Linked DNA regions of Homo sapiens: region 2 is linked to region 1. The links are contacts of gene promoters, found by promoter capture Hi-C in human tissues and cell types (Jung and others, 2019). All regions are on one chromosome and are shown on one strand. Each heading gives the region's core, a stretch centred on a gene start or on the middle of the fragment in contact. The rest is flanking DNA. Distances are from core to core; before and after follow the strand shown. Region 1 holds the start of RB1 (RB transcriptional corepressor 1). Region 2 overlaps HTR2A (5-hydroxytryptamine receptor 2A).

Region 1 (6,203 bases), core at 2,067-4,566:
CCTGCCTCAGCCTCCAGAGTAGCTGGGATTACAGGCACCTGCCACCACACTCAGCTAATTTCGTATTTTTGGTAGAGATGTGGTTTCACCATGTTTGCCAGCCTGGTCTCAAACTCCTGACCTCAGGTGATCCACCCGCCTTGGCCTCCCAAACTGCTGGGATTACAGGCGTGAGCCACCGTACCTGGTCTAGACTCTGCCGAAATTCTAATACTTCTTTGGTAATGCAACAGAAAACTAAAGATTTTGATGGTGAACTCAATTGCTTCTGAGTTGTGTGGATGAAAATATATTTTATTATTTTTTCCTTCAACTTTTAAGCTCCCAGGTATATGTGTAGGATGTGCAGGTTTGTTACACAGGTAAATGTGTGCTATGGTGGTGTGCTGCACAGATCAACCCATCACCATGGTATTAAGCCCAGCATCCATTAGCTCTCCTGATGCTCTCCCTCTCCCCACCCTTCCCCGCTACAGGCCCCAGTGTGTGTTGTTCCCCTTCCTGGGTCTATTTTATGGTATGTATGTGTGTATGTGTGTGTGTGTGTGTGTGTGTGTGTGTGTGTGTGTATCTATTTATGTGTATATATTATGATATATACACCACACTTTTTTCAAACTATTATTTTAGGTTTAGGGATACATGTGCAAGTTTGTTATATAGGTAAACTGTGTGTCTCTGGGGTTTGGTGTGTACAGATTTTTTCACCACCCAGGTAACAAGTGTAGTACCTGATAGGTAGTTTTTTGATCTTCTGTCCTCTCACCCTACACCCTCAAGTAATCCCCCAGTGTGTGTTGTTCCCCTCTTCATGTCCATGTGTTCTCATTGTTTAGCTCCCACTTATAAGTGAGAACATGCAGTGTTTGGTTTTCTGTTCCTGCGTTAGTTTGCTGAGGATAAAGGCTTCTGGCTCCATCCATGTTCCTGCAAAGGACATGATCTCATTCCTTTTTATGGCTGCAGGAAAATATATTTTACATACTAGTGAACATAGTTAAATTAATCCATGGTCAAGACATATATTCTTTTGTAAATTGAGAAATCTCTTTATCATAATTGTAATATGGTAATAAATAAATCTAGATTACATAAATGTAATCTAGATGTTGATAAACTGGTTTTAAATAAAGCAAGTGATATCTACGTATGAAGAGAGTTTACTTCAGTTCCTAGAACTTTCCTTCACTTTCCTGCCATCCCTACTTTTAGTAAGCAAGCATTTACTGTGTGTGTAACACTGTGCTAGGTACTAAGGCAATGATGATACCCAAGATTTGGTCTCTATCCTGAAGATAAGCACAGGAGAAACATTATCAGTCATGATGCTTTCTGTTGCAAACAAGTGAAAACCTCAGCTCAGCTTAGGTCAGCTCCAGGGCTGGCCAAATCAGAGGCTCATTTATAACACTGAGGATCCAGATTCTTTTGAAATTCCTCCTGCACCAATATCAGCATTTCTACCTTCTCTGTAGGTTGGCTTGCCTCACGTTACAATGGCTGCAGCAATCAGAAGTGTCACATCCTCAGTAATACTTAATATTATTACTATTATTTAATAATATTTAGAACTGTGCCATCCCTGTTTCAATTTATCAGGCTCCCAGCAGACTACTCCTTATCTTTCAAATGTCAAAACTGCATCCTGAGCTCTTGCCTAAACTAATCTGGGGTGAGGTGAATGGAAGTAGCACTTTAATTGTATTCATTCTTTGTAGCTGGACCTGGGCCTGGGCCCTATCTCCTGACATTTGCCCACAAGAAAGATTTCTGAAGTTAGGTAGGACTGGCTGTTGAGTAGGCCAGTGCTTGCCAAACCTTTACACATCCTCACATATGTCATAATATGCAGATAAAAAGATAATCCCTTATACAACTTGCTGGGATAAACTCAGGAGGCTTACAGCCATGACCTGCTTGAAGGTTCTTCCTGCCTTAGACCTTGCTCAGCTGCTCCAGGATGAGGGGATTTACATCACAGCACAACTGTATTTTATTCACAGCATAAACCATCTCTTTCCTTCTCAGTTGACGAGTTCAGATGGGCAATAACAGTGTCTGCCAAAGAGAAAAAAAAATGTATTCAAACTAGATAATCTATTGGTACAAATACCGAGACACAGAAGTGATAACAGCTTTAAGCCAATGTTTGATGGTGGTAGTCCCAGCAAGCTCTTTTCTGATGTCTTTGTGCCTTTGCACATGCTCCTTCTCTGTCACTGTTTTCTTCATCAAACATAATATAATGGACAAGTGGAATCAAATAGAATTGAGTTCAAATTCTCTGCTACCCATCGGCCCTGGTATTGGACAAATTAACTCCTCTGAGCCTGTTTCCTCATCTGCAACGTAGACTAGCTAATACTACCCATTGGAAAGCGTTGTTTCTTAGCTAATGCATGCAAGGCTTAAAACCTAGATGACGGGTTGATAGGTGCAGCAAACCTCCATGGCATACGTATGCCTATGTAACAAACCTACACGTTCTGCACTTGTATCCCGGAACTTAAAGTAAAAAAAAAAAAAAAAAAAGAAAAGAAAGAAAGAAAAAGAAAAAAAAGGCTGTTTCTGGGGATTAAATAAGACAATTATGTAAGGTGGCCAGCACAGTTCCTGGTACATAGTAAATGTCAGGCCTGCCTGACAGACTTCTATTCAGCAGCTACTGCTCCCCTGAAAATCTTCCTCAGACGTTTCCACGGTGCTTCCCGTTCTTACACCACTACAATCCTTTATTACACTACTATCCGTTCATTCCCCACAGCTCCCTCCCTTCCTTTCCCTAACCAGTGATCCCAAAAGGCCAGCAAGTGTCTAACATTTTCTATCTTCTAAGTGACTGGTAAAGTTCCGCACCTATCAGCGCTCCAAGTTTGTTTTTGTTTTGGCCGACTTTGCAAAACGGATTGGGCGGGATGAGAGGTGGGGGGCGCCGCCCAAGGAGGGAGAGTGGCGCTCCCGCCGAGGGTGCACTAGCCAGATATTCCCTGCGGGGCCCGAGAGTCTTCCCTATCAGACCCCGGGATAGGGATGAGGCCCACAGTCACCCACCAGACTCTTTGTATAGCCCCGTTAAGTGCACCCCGGCCTGGAGGGGGTGGTTCTGGGTAGAAGCACGTCCGGGCCGCGCCGGATGCCTCCTGGAAGGCGCCTGGACCCACGCCAGGTTTCCCAGTTTAATTCCTCATGACTTAGCGTCCCAGCCCGCGCACCGACCAGCGCCCCAGTTCCCCACAGACGCCGGCGGGCCCGGGAGCCTCGCGGACGTGACGCCGCGGGCGGAAGTGACGTTTTCCCGCGGTTGGACGCGGCGCTCAGTTGCCGGGCGGGGGAGGGCGCGTCCGGTTTTTCTCAGGGGACGTTGAAATTATTTTTGTAACGGGAGTCGGGAGAGGACGGGGCGTGCCCCGACGTGCGCGCGCGTCGTCCTCCCCGGCGCTCCTCCACAGCTCGCTGGCTCCCGCCGCGGAAAGGCGTCATGCCGCCCAAAACCCCCCGAAAAACGGCCGCCACCGCCGCCGCTGCCGCCGCGGAACCCCCGGCACCGCCGCCGCCGCCCCCTCCTGAGGAGGACCCAGAGCAGGACAGCGGCCCGGAGGACCTGCCTCTCGTCAGGTGAGCGAGCAGAGCCGCCGTCGCCTCACGCGGGAAGGGCGCCCCGGGTGTGCGTAGGGCGGGCGCCAAGGCGGCTCGGCGGGGATCCGTCCTCGCCAGGGGCCGGGTCCCGGCGGGAGGAGGCGCCCTCCCTGCCCCCCGCCACGGCGGAGCGTCTGCAGAATGGTGACAGGATTCTGGGTTCTTGGGCGAGGGGTCTCGGCTTCAACTTGACAGGTGTCGGGCGGGTGGGGCTAGGGTCCTGAGCGAAGTGACAGGTGCAGTTCCCTCTTGTGAGGCTCGGAGGCAGAGGGTCGTTGCGAGCGTCCATCAGACGCAAAAAATGAAAAATAAAAATACAAAAATGGTGTCTGTGGGAGAGTTTTTCACCGGAGAATTGGAGTACTCCGGTGGTCGTCTGACTTTCTGTTTTGGTTCACGCGATGCAACAGTTGGGAAGTATTTTCTTCCGGGCGTGCACTGCATCTGAAGTCCATTTGTGGGAGAGGCCGACCAGAAAGCCTTGGACAAGAAGCGCAGGGTCCTGAGTGTCCATTGCCCACAGGATACTCGGCTCAGGAGCTTTGCGGCGTTTCCTTAGAACAATAATGCATCGAGGCCTTGGGGACTCAAAGCCATCTGTAGTGATTGATGGAGCGTAACTCTTTAGAGGAACTGAAACATGGGCAAAACTTTCATGAGACATTTACCAGAAGTGCTTGAAAGTTTCTAAACTTTTTTTTTTCCTGTTTGATGAACTCTTCTTGCGTGTTAGTCGGCTTCGGCTTGTCTCATTATTTCTTCCATTTTGCCTTTTGACTTTGAACCAGCAAGGATCTTGGTGTCCCCTCTTTTTGCCTTTGTTTTTGGCACAAAATTAGTGGTTCTGTGCGCAAATGGAAATTTTCGTTTTCCCTTATTAAGTGGAATCTAAATTTAAGCAAGTCCATACGAATGCACTAGATCTTGAAGGGAAGTATTTATTGTATTACAACATCTTACTTTTCTTGATTTTTCTACTTTATGGTTAAATAGCTATGATTGAAAGAGTGTAATTGTCATTATTGTCAGCACTGGTTCTACTTTGAGACAAGTTCATTGCAGAGGGAATGGGACTTGTTTCTGTTTTTCACTATTTTCTCTCCCATTCTTGTCTATCACCAAATCCTTTCACCCTCACCCATTTCTTTCCACTCGGTATACACTAACAATTCACGGCAGAAAAGATTGAAGTGGGATTTAGGAAATGGCCCCTGGAAGGCTATTAAAAATTTATATATTTAAATGGACTGTCTTATAGGTCAGTTAAAAACCATATTCGTTAAAAAACCAAAATAACAACAACAAAAAATTAAAAACCACGTCTGGGGCATGTTCTGGGAAAAGACATGGCTTTAGTTTCTGATTAAATTCTGATGTATCCAATTCTTGCAAATTTCCCTTGGGAAAATGCAGTAATGGCTACTCTAAAGAATTCCATGTTATGCACACAGCTTTGGAAGCATACTCTAATGTAGGGTAACCAGGAATATTGACGTTGTGGCCACTGCTTGGAAAAAAGAGGACTGTTTCTTTCATTTTTTAACTCATTTTATATATTTTAAGTAATGGAACTATAAAAAATTCTCTTATAAGTCAAAACCATACAAGATACAGTCTGTTCTTGATTATCCATACCCACAAAGGGTTTCATTAACATAGACAGTTGAACTCTATAAATTAACCAGCAAGGGTAGAACCGCTGCCGTGCAGTCTGATACTGAGCATCTTGCCTGGAGATGGAATCAAGGCTCAGTCCAACTGCACCTCCAGTGACAGATTCCATTCCTGATTTGAGAGTTTAGATCTTATTTCTGTTGCCTTATCTCTGGCCTAAGTAATGTAGCTGGAAGGGAAACTGTCACTAGGAACAGCATACCACATTCATTGTTGAAATAATCAAAGGTTAATCATGTTTCGAGCTGGGTGTGATGGCGCGTACCTGTAGTCCATGCTACTCAGGAGGCTGAGGCAGGAGGATCACATGAGCTTGGGAGTTGGAGGCCAGCCTGGGCAACAAAGCAAGACCCCAGTCTTTAAAAAAACAAAAAAGCTGACCAGGCATGTTGGCTCACGCCTGTAATGCCAGCACTTTGGGAGGCCAAGATGGGAAGATTGCTTGAGGCCAGGAGTTTGAGAGGAGCCTGGGCAACAAAACAAGACCCTGTCTCTAAAACAAATTTTAAAAAATTAGCCAGTGGCTGTGGCACACCTGTAGGCTCATCTACTCAGGAGGCTGAGGTGGGAGGATCCCTTGAGCCCAGGAGTTTGAGACTGCAGTGAGCCATGATTTCACCACTGCACCCCAGCCTGGATGACAGAGTGAAACCCTATTTCAAAACAAGAAAAAAAAACAAAAACTAATTATGTTTTGAAGGAGGAATTGGCAGTCTAGAATAGTGGTCAAGGGCATGGATTATAGAGTTAGACTGTTGGGCTCACATAGTGGTTTACCTCTTACCGGCTGAGACCTCAGGTAAGTTCTTTAACTTCTCCAATTTGACAGACATCTGTAAATGTCTACTTTTACAGATGAGAATACTTATCTAAAAGGGCTGATGTCGGGATTC
Region 2 (5,769 bases), core at 2,302-4,801, 1.5 Mb before region 1:
AGAAAGCTCACAGCTGAAATGCTGTCAGAACATTTTCCAAGCACACATTTTGTAGCATTGAACCCCGCTTTTCATTGACAGAATAAAATGAGGCATACAGATATGATCGTTGGTTCCACTAGACTTGTCTAATTTTTTCCAATCTCATATTTTTTTTTTTCCAGATAGGTGAAAACTTGCTCAGTGTGCCTTCCACAGTTGCCACGGCAACTAGCCTATCACACACAGCTCACCTTTTCATTCACTCCGTCGCTATTGTCTTTAGAAGCCTCTTCAGAATGCTGCTTTCCTAGAGCAACCATTGAGCAGTCATTATCTGTTGTCTTGGCATCTTGCTTTGAATTCTTTTTTTGTCCCATTTGAAGTTGGCTAGACTTGTAGGCCAAAGCCGGTATTGTGTTCACTAAAATTAACTGCAATGGTTTTTTGTTTTCCTTGTACTGACACTGAATATACCGTGAAAAGGCTGACCTATAGGTCTTGTTGAACAGTGTGTAGACTAGTGGGTTGACTGCTGAAGAGAGATAACCGATCCAAACAAACACATTGAGCAGGGCCCCAATGACATCCTCATTGCAGGACTCTTTGCAGATGACGGCCATGATGTTTGTGATGAAGAAAGGGCACCACATCACCACAAACAGGAAGAAGACGATGCCCAGCACCTTGCATGCCTTTTGCTCATTGCTGATGGACTGCATAGTCCTCCTGCCTGTGTAGGACCCTGGCTCCCTATGGATCGACCGCTGGAAGAGCTTTTCTGAAGACAAAGAACTCTGAGGGAGGAAGCTGAAAGAAGCTAATTTGGCCCGTGTGCCAAGATCACTTACACACAAAGTAGCTTCTTTCTGGAGTGACTTGATAGTTAGAAAGTAGGTGATCACCATGATGGTTAAGGGAATGAAAAATGACACAAAAGAGCCGATCAGGACAAAGTTATCATCGGCGAGTAAGCAACTCCCCTCCTTAAAGACCTTCGAATCGTCCTGTAGCCCAAAGACTGGTATTGGCATGGATATACCTGGAGTTGAACAGAAAATGAAACATGATTATTAAGGAATTAAGTATATGAAGGCAAGAGCATCATCACATAATATTGGCTATTGAAAAGATTTTATATCATCGTTTAAAAGCTTAACATACTTTGAGAATTTAAAATTCCTTTGGACTTACATATGTGTTTTGTAAGTATATATTATGTAGTTACTTGTATGTTATATTGCCCTATATAGCTAACCCTTATAAAGAAGTATAATAAATCTAGCTTTATTTTTTATGCCACATTTTTCTGATTATAATATTATACTTATTAATTGAAGAAACACACAGAGAGGCAAATAAACTAAAAATTGTCCAATAACGTCACCATCTAGAGATAGCCACAATTAACAACTGATGCTGTTCATTTTATTTATTTATATATTTATTTATTTTTGTCTATGAAAATCTAGAATATAGATTTGTTTCTTTTTTTGATGCTGTTCATTTTAGATACATTCACACACTTACCATGTGCACACATTTTAAAACAGAATTGAGGTTCTTTTTCACAAATAGTTCTGTATCTTTTTTAAAAAATCTAATAATATGTCACAAGCATGGCTTATATATAAAAATAACTATAAAATTTTAAATATAGTTTATTTTCTCTCTAGAAAATTTGGGAGGTACAAAAATGTAACAATGAATAAAGAAAAATAATATGTATTCTCACCAGTCAGGGGCAACCATAATTTACATTTGCATCATTTCTTCTTCCACTTACATGTACATATAAAAGCAAATGTGTATATGCAGTACTTTACATGCAGTACTTTGTACCTTATATGTTTTAGATCTTCCTATTCCATTTAACATTATAAATCATGATAATTGCACATAAAATATTTTTGAGAAATACAATTTTCTAATATTAATTTAAAATAACCAATTTTAATTCTTTTTAAAAAAGCTTTTATTATGGGACATTTTTAACATACACACAACTAACAAACCAAAAACCAAACCCAGTACAGTGAACTCGTCACCCAGCTTCAAAGATTATCAGCTCAAGCCCAATCTTGTTTCATCCATATGTCCTCTGGCTGCCATCCCTCCCATGTTATTATGAAGCAAATCCTAGACATCATGTCATTCAATCTGAAAATATTTATTACGTAGATCTAAAAGCCATGCACTCTTAGACAAACCTAATATTTTCACAATACCATTCTCACTCCTAAATAGAAGTTTAATATTTCCTTAATATTAAATGTAGAGTTAGTGTTCAAATTTCCAATTGTCCCATAAAGGTTGTTCTATGTTTTTAGTAGTAGAGCATTCATAAGGATGGATTGCAAAAAACAAGACAGCCATAGACTTTTTATTGACAAATATAAAAAGTAGGTATAGGATGAGATAATACAGGGGAACATGGGCCTATATGGTTCATTGCTCCATCACCCAGATTTGGGGGATCTGTAAGGCTCCCTCAGGTACAGGGATTAGGCAGAGGAGGAAGCAGAAGTGAATAAAGGCAACCCCTGGCCTCTAATCATGCTATGTGCCCCACTTGATGATAGGACCTTTTTAAAGGAAGATTCAACTGGCCATGTTGTGCAGTTTCACCACCCAGCCCCCACCATGGACAACCTCTCTGCTCCTGGGGAAATAGGTGTATCTTTCTCTACTGGCCTGGGATGGTTGGTCCAAGGCAATCATGAGATGGCTTATTCTCTCTGCCATAAAGGTAGAATCAGGATGATAAAAAAGAGAGGAAACATGAATCAAGTACTCTGTATAACTTAGTTTAAGATTGTTTCTTTCATGAAATGGTAGATATTGCAGGGACAGCCTGGGAGAAAAAGTCAGAAAAATAGTTCCCTTCTAACTCCTGCCCATATTATCAGCACACTCAGAATTGTAGAACAAAGAGTGTTGTGGTTACTGCTTCTGACCGTCTTTAGAGTCTAATACATGGTCTCACACCAGCCAAGAACACCGGTTTATTCCAGAATTGGGGGCCACTGCCTCACTCTTGCCATCCATCTGGAAAAAGGTTTTTGGAGAATCTCTAATCTAACTTCTGCATACTCAGAACAGAGTTCCGCTTCATCCAAGCACAGGCATGACTGTCCTAACCTCATGTCACCTCACATTGGCCATCGTGGCCAGGAAAGAACGCTGAGTTGATGTAATATTCAACACAAATCTTTCTTAGTGACATTTGCCATTATCTTCAAAGACTTAATTAACAATATTTGTCACTTGCCTATGCAAGCCCATCCAGGATTCTTGGAAGGTGGAGATAAATGACATCAGAGCTGTTCATAAGGACACTTATTGTGGCTAATGACTCTTCATTTCCTCCATCCCTCTCTGTTCCTGGCCCATTGTTTGCAACATTCAAGAAGAGATTGATGAGCTGTGCCTCCAAGGAGAACATCCTCTGAGACCCTGGATATTGACCAGTTTTGCTTATCCTTCGGAAAACTCTTGATTGTAAAAGTAAGGGCATGATTTCTAAGAAGAGTGTTTTTCTCCCAGTGTTTGAATCTAGATCTGTGAAAGATATTTCCTGTACTCATGTACAAGGTCTTCTTAGACAGCACAGTTGCTCATTGATTAGAAAGGATGCTTTGTTCAACCATTTGAGACATCCCTGGATTTGAGTCTTGGCTGTGGCTCTGGGCTCCTGAATTGGTTACTTCATTCCTATAGTCCCCACTTCTTCATCTATCGTGGGAGGCTGGCACCAACATACCTTCATGCATTTGGTGAGGATAAAATGGATCAAATTTGCAGAGCACCTAGCACAGCACCCAGTCCATAGTGATGTTCTACCAGTGGTCAATAAACATGAGAGTAGCTTTCTCTGCAGAACTATTTATATTAAATATATCAACATTATTTTATTCTAATCCATTTTGCTTAGTTTGTATACACTAGATTTTATATAGCAGATCTTTTTAAACCAAAAGAGACTAAAAAGACTTTTGGCTATTGGCCGTAGAGTTAACACTGATGTAATTTTAGCTTCTGCCAGGGTGACGCCGGGTCTTAATCAATTTTAATTTTGTGCAGCTAGAACTGTTGATTACTTTCCTAATGTGATGAATTACAGCATTACTATTAGTCATGATACACAGAAACAAGATATCAACCGTCCAAAAAAGGTGTGTGATTTTGTTATTAAACTCTTGAGTGTTCTTTTTCTAATTAATACAAAGGAAGTAACTACCTTGAGAGCCTTTTGCCCTATTTGCTTATAACCTAGTAATGTACATAAGTGGCAATTCTCAATTAACCAGAATGTGGGCTTACCTAAAATGCCAAATTCTTTAATTATTTGGAATAGTGTCTTTGGTTGGACACACACATACACACACACACACACACACACACACACACACCCTTACAGAATAGCCCAGTTTCTGAGAGGGGTGATGGAGTCATCTGCACTGAAATAGAGAATCCCTCTCTTAAATGCCCGGGATAAAAAGCCACTCTACAAGAGGATGTGGTAAGAGGTTACACGCAGAGCTGTTCTGTCTGGAAGGGGGATATTAATTTGGAAGTGGAGAATCAAGCTGATCAGTTATTTAAATGGCCTATTCATCTTTACATATAACAAAAACATCCTGAATACTATCGTATACCATTCTTTTTCCATGCCTCACTCATAGTATCTGGTCAGCAAGGGTTGTAGAAAGAATAACCAGAAAGTTAAAGTAATACTCTATAAAGAGGAGAGGAAATTTTATGTCAAAAAACTTAGAACACATAGATAGGCTTTGTGGGTACAATCAGCAGCTCAAAAGCATGTGCCTCTACCAAGAGAGATGAAGACATGGGCTGATATCCAATATCGTGGTCACAGCCATCTCTAGGGCATTAATTATCTGGCTGCTTTGTTTGACAATAGCTGCTTTTGGAGACCTGACATCTCCTCTCACTTGAAATTTCTGCATATAAAGCATTTTCCTTTATGAACAAAACAGACAGTAACCTGAATTACATGACTCTGCATTTTGTTTAATATATTTTTTCTGAAGAGTGGAAAACAGCAGTCAAAATTCACTATCAGTATTAGATCCTCTATGTAGCATTTTATTCATTTCCATTGAAACTCAGACAATAAAATGAATGGGAAACCTTGACACCTAAGAACACAAAAGCTTTGGTTGGTGTCTTTCTTTCAGCATGGCTCTGCTTACTTCCTGCACATAAACTTTGCACCTCTAGTTAACATCTTACCACAGGCTGCATCAATAATTCACTTTGAACCGCTGGCTGTGAAGGACTGGCTTTATTCTTAATCTTGGACTTTTTCTGAGACAGTGTACATTTCTTGGGAAATAAGAAGATTGCCTTCCTAGATAACCATTCTCTTGTAGGGAACAGGACAGTGGCAGTCCCTAGGGCCCTCAGCTGGAAAGGAGGTGGAGGGCAGAGAAGTTATTTCGGGGCTCTTGTGAAAAAGATTGAAATTTGGGTTCATAGGTTTCTGTTTCCCCAAACTGCTACCTTTTCTTTGAATTTTAATGCATGCTGTATTTTTCAAGTTATAAGAACAAATTTACTAGTAGTTTGACAGAAGACACCACTGGTAAACACTGCAGGATAATCCTCATATTACAGGGAAAGAAGAATTGAATATATAGGGCAACTGCCAATGGGACTCACTATCCTGATACAGAGTGGCTAAATTCCTTCTAATCTATGTATGGTGTGTTGACAAGGCAGATGTACATAAAAATGAGAGCTACACAAACATGTCAGTTACCCAAA

Evidence for each region. The method cuts DNA at HindIII sites, captures the fragments that hold promoters and counts their contacts. A contact is called where the count stands out against the background at its distance.
Region 2: a contact is called between a fragment that was not itself captured here and the fragment with the promoter of RB1 in region 1, in 1 of the 25 tissues and cell types used here (lymphoblastoid cells).

What each region holds. Positions count from the first base shown.
Region 1 is chr13:48,300,435-48,306,637 of GRCh38, forward strand. RB1 (RB transcriptional corepressor 1) reads left to right here and starts at 3,317. Exons shown (of 27, transcript NM_000321.3): 1 at 3,317-3,615. The coding sequence starts at 3,479. It overlaps RB1-DT (RB1 divergent transcript), which reads right to left and starts at 3,268. Exons shown (of 3, transcript NR_046414.2): 1 at 2,857-3,268; 2 at 1,905-2,058. RefSeq lists enhancers at 2,445-3,170, 3,171-3,894, 3,969-4,018, 4,259-4,328 and a silencer at 3,469-3,758. The HindIII fragment of the contact is 21,400 bases long and covers 1-6,203 here.
Region 2 is chr13:46,834,619-46,840,387 of GRCh38, forward strand. It overlaps HTR2A (5-hydroxytryptamine receptor 2A), which reads right to left. Exons shown (of 4, transcript NM_000621.5): 4 at 1-1,021. The coding sequence ends at 219. Among named protein-coding and RNA genes, the nearest start is that of HTR2A-AS1, 15 kb to the right of the region's middle. The HindIII fragment of the contact is 4,018 bases long and covers 1,543-5,560 here.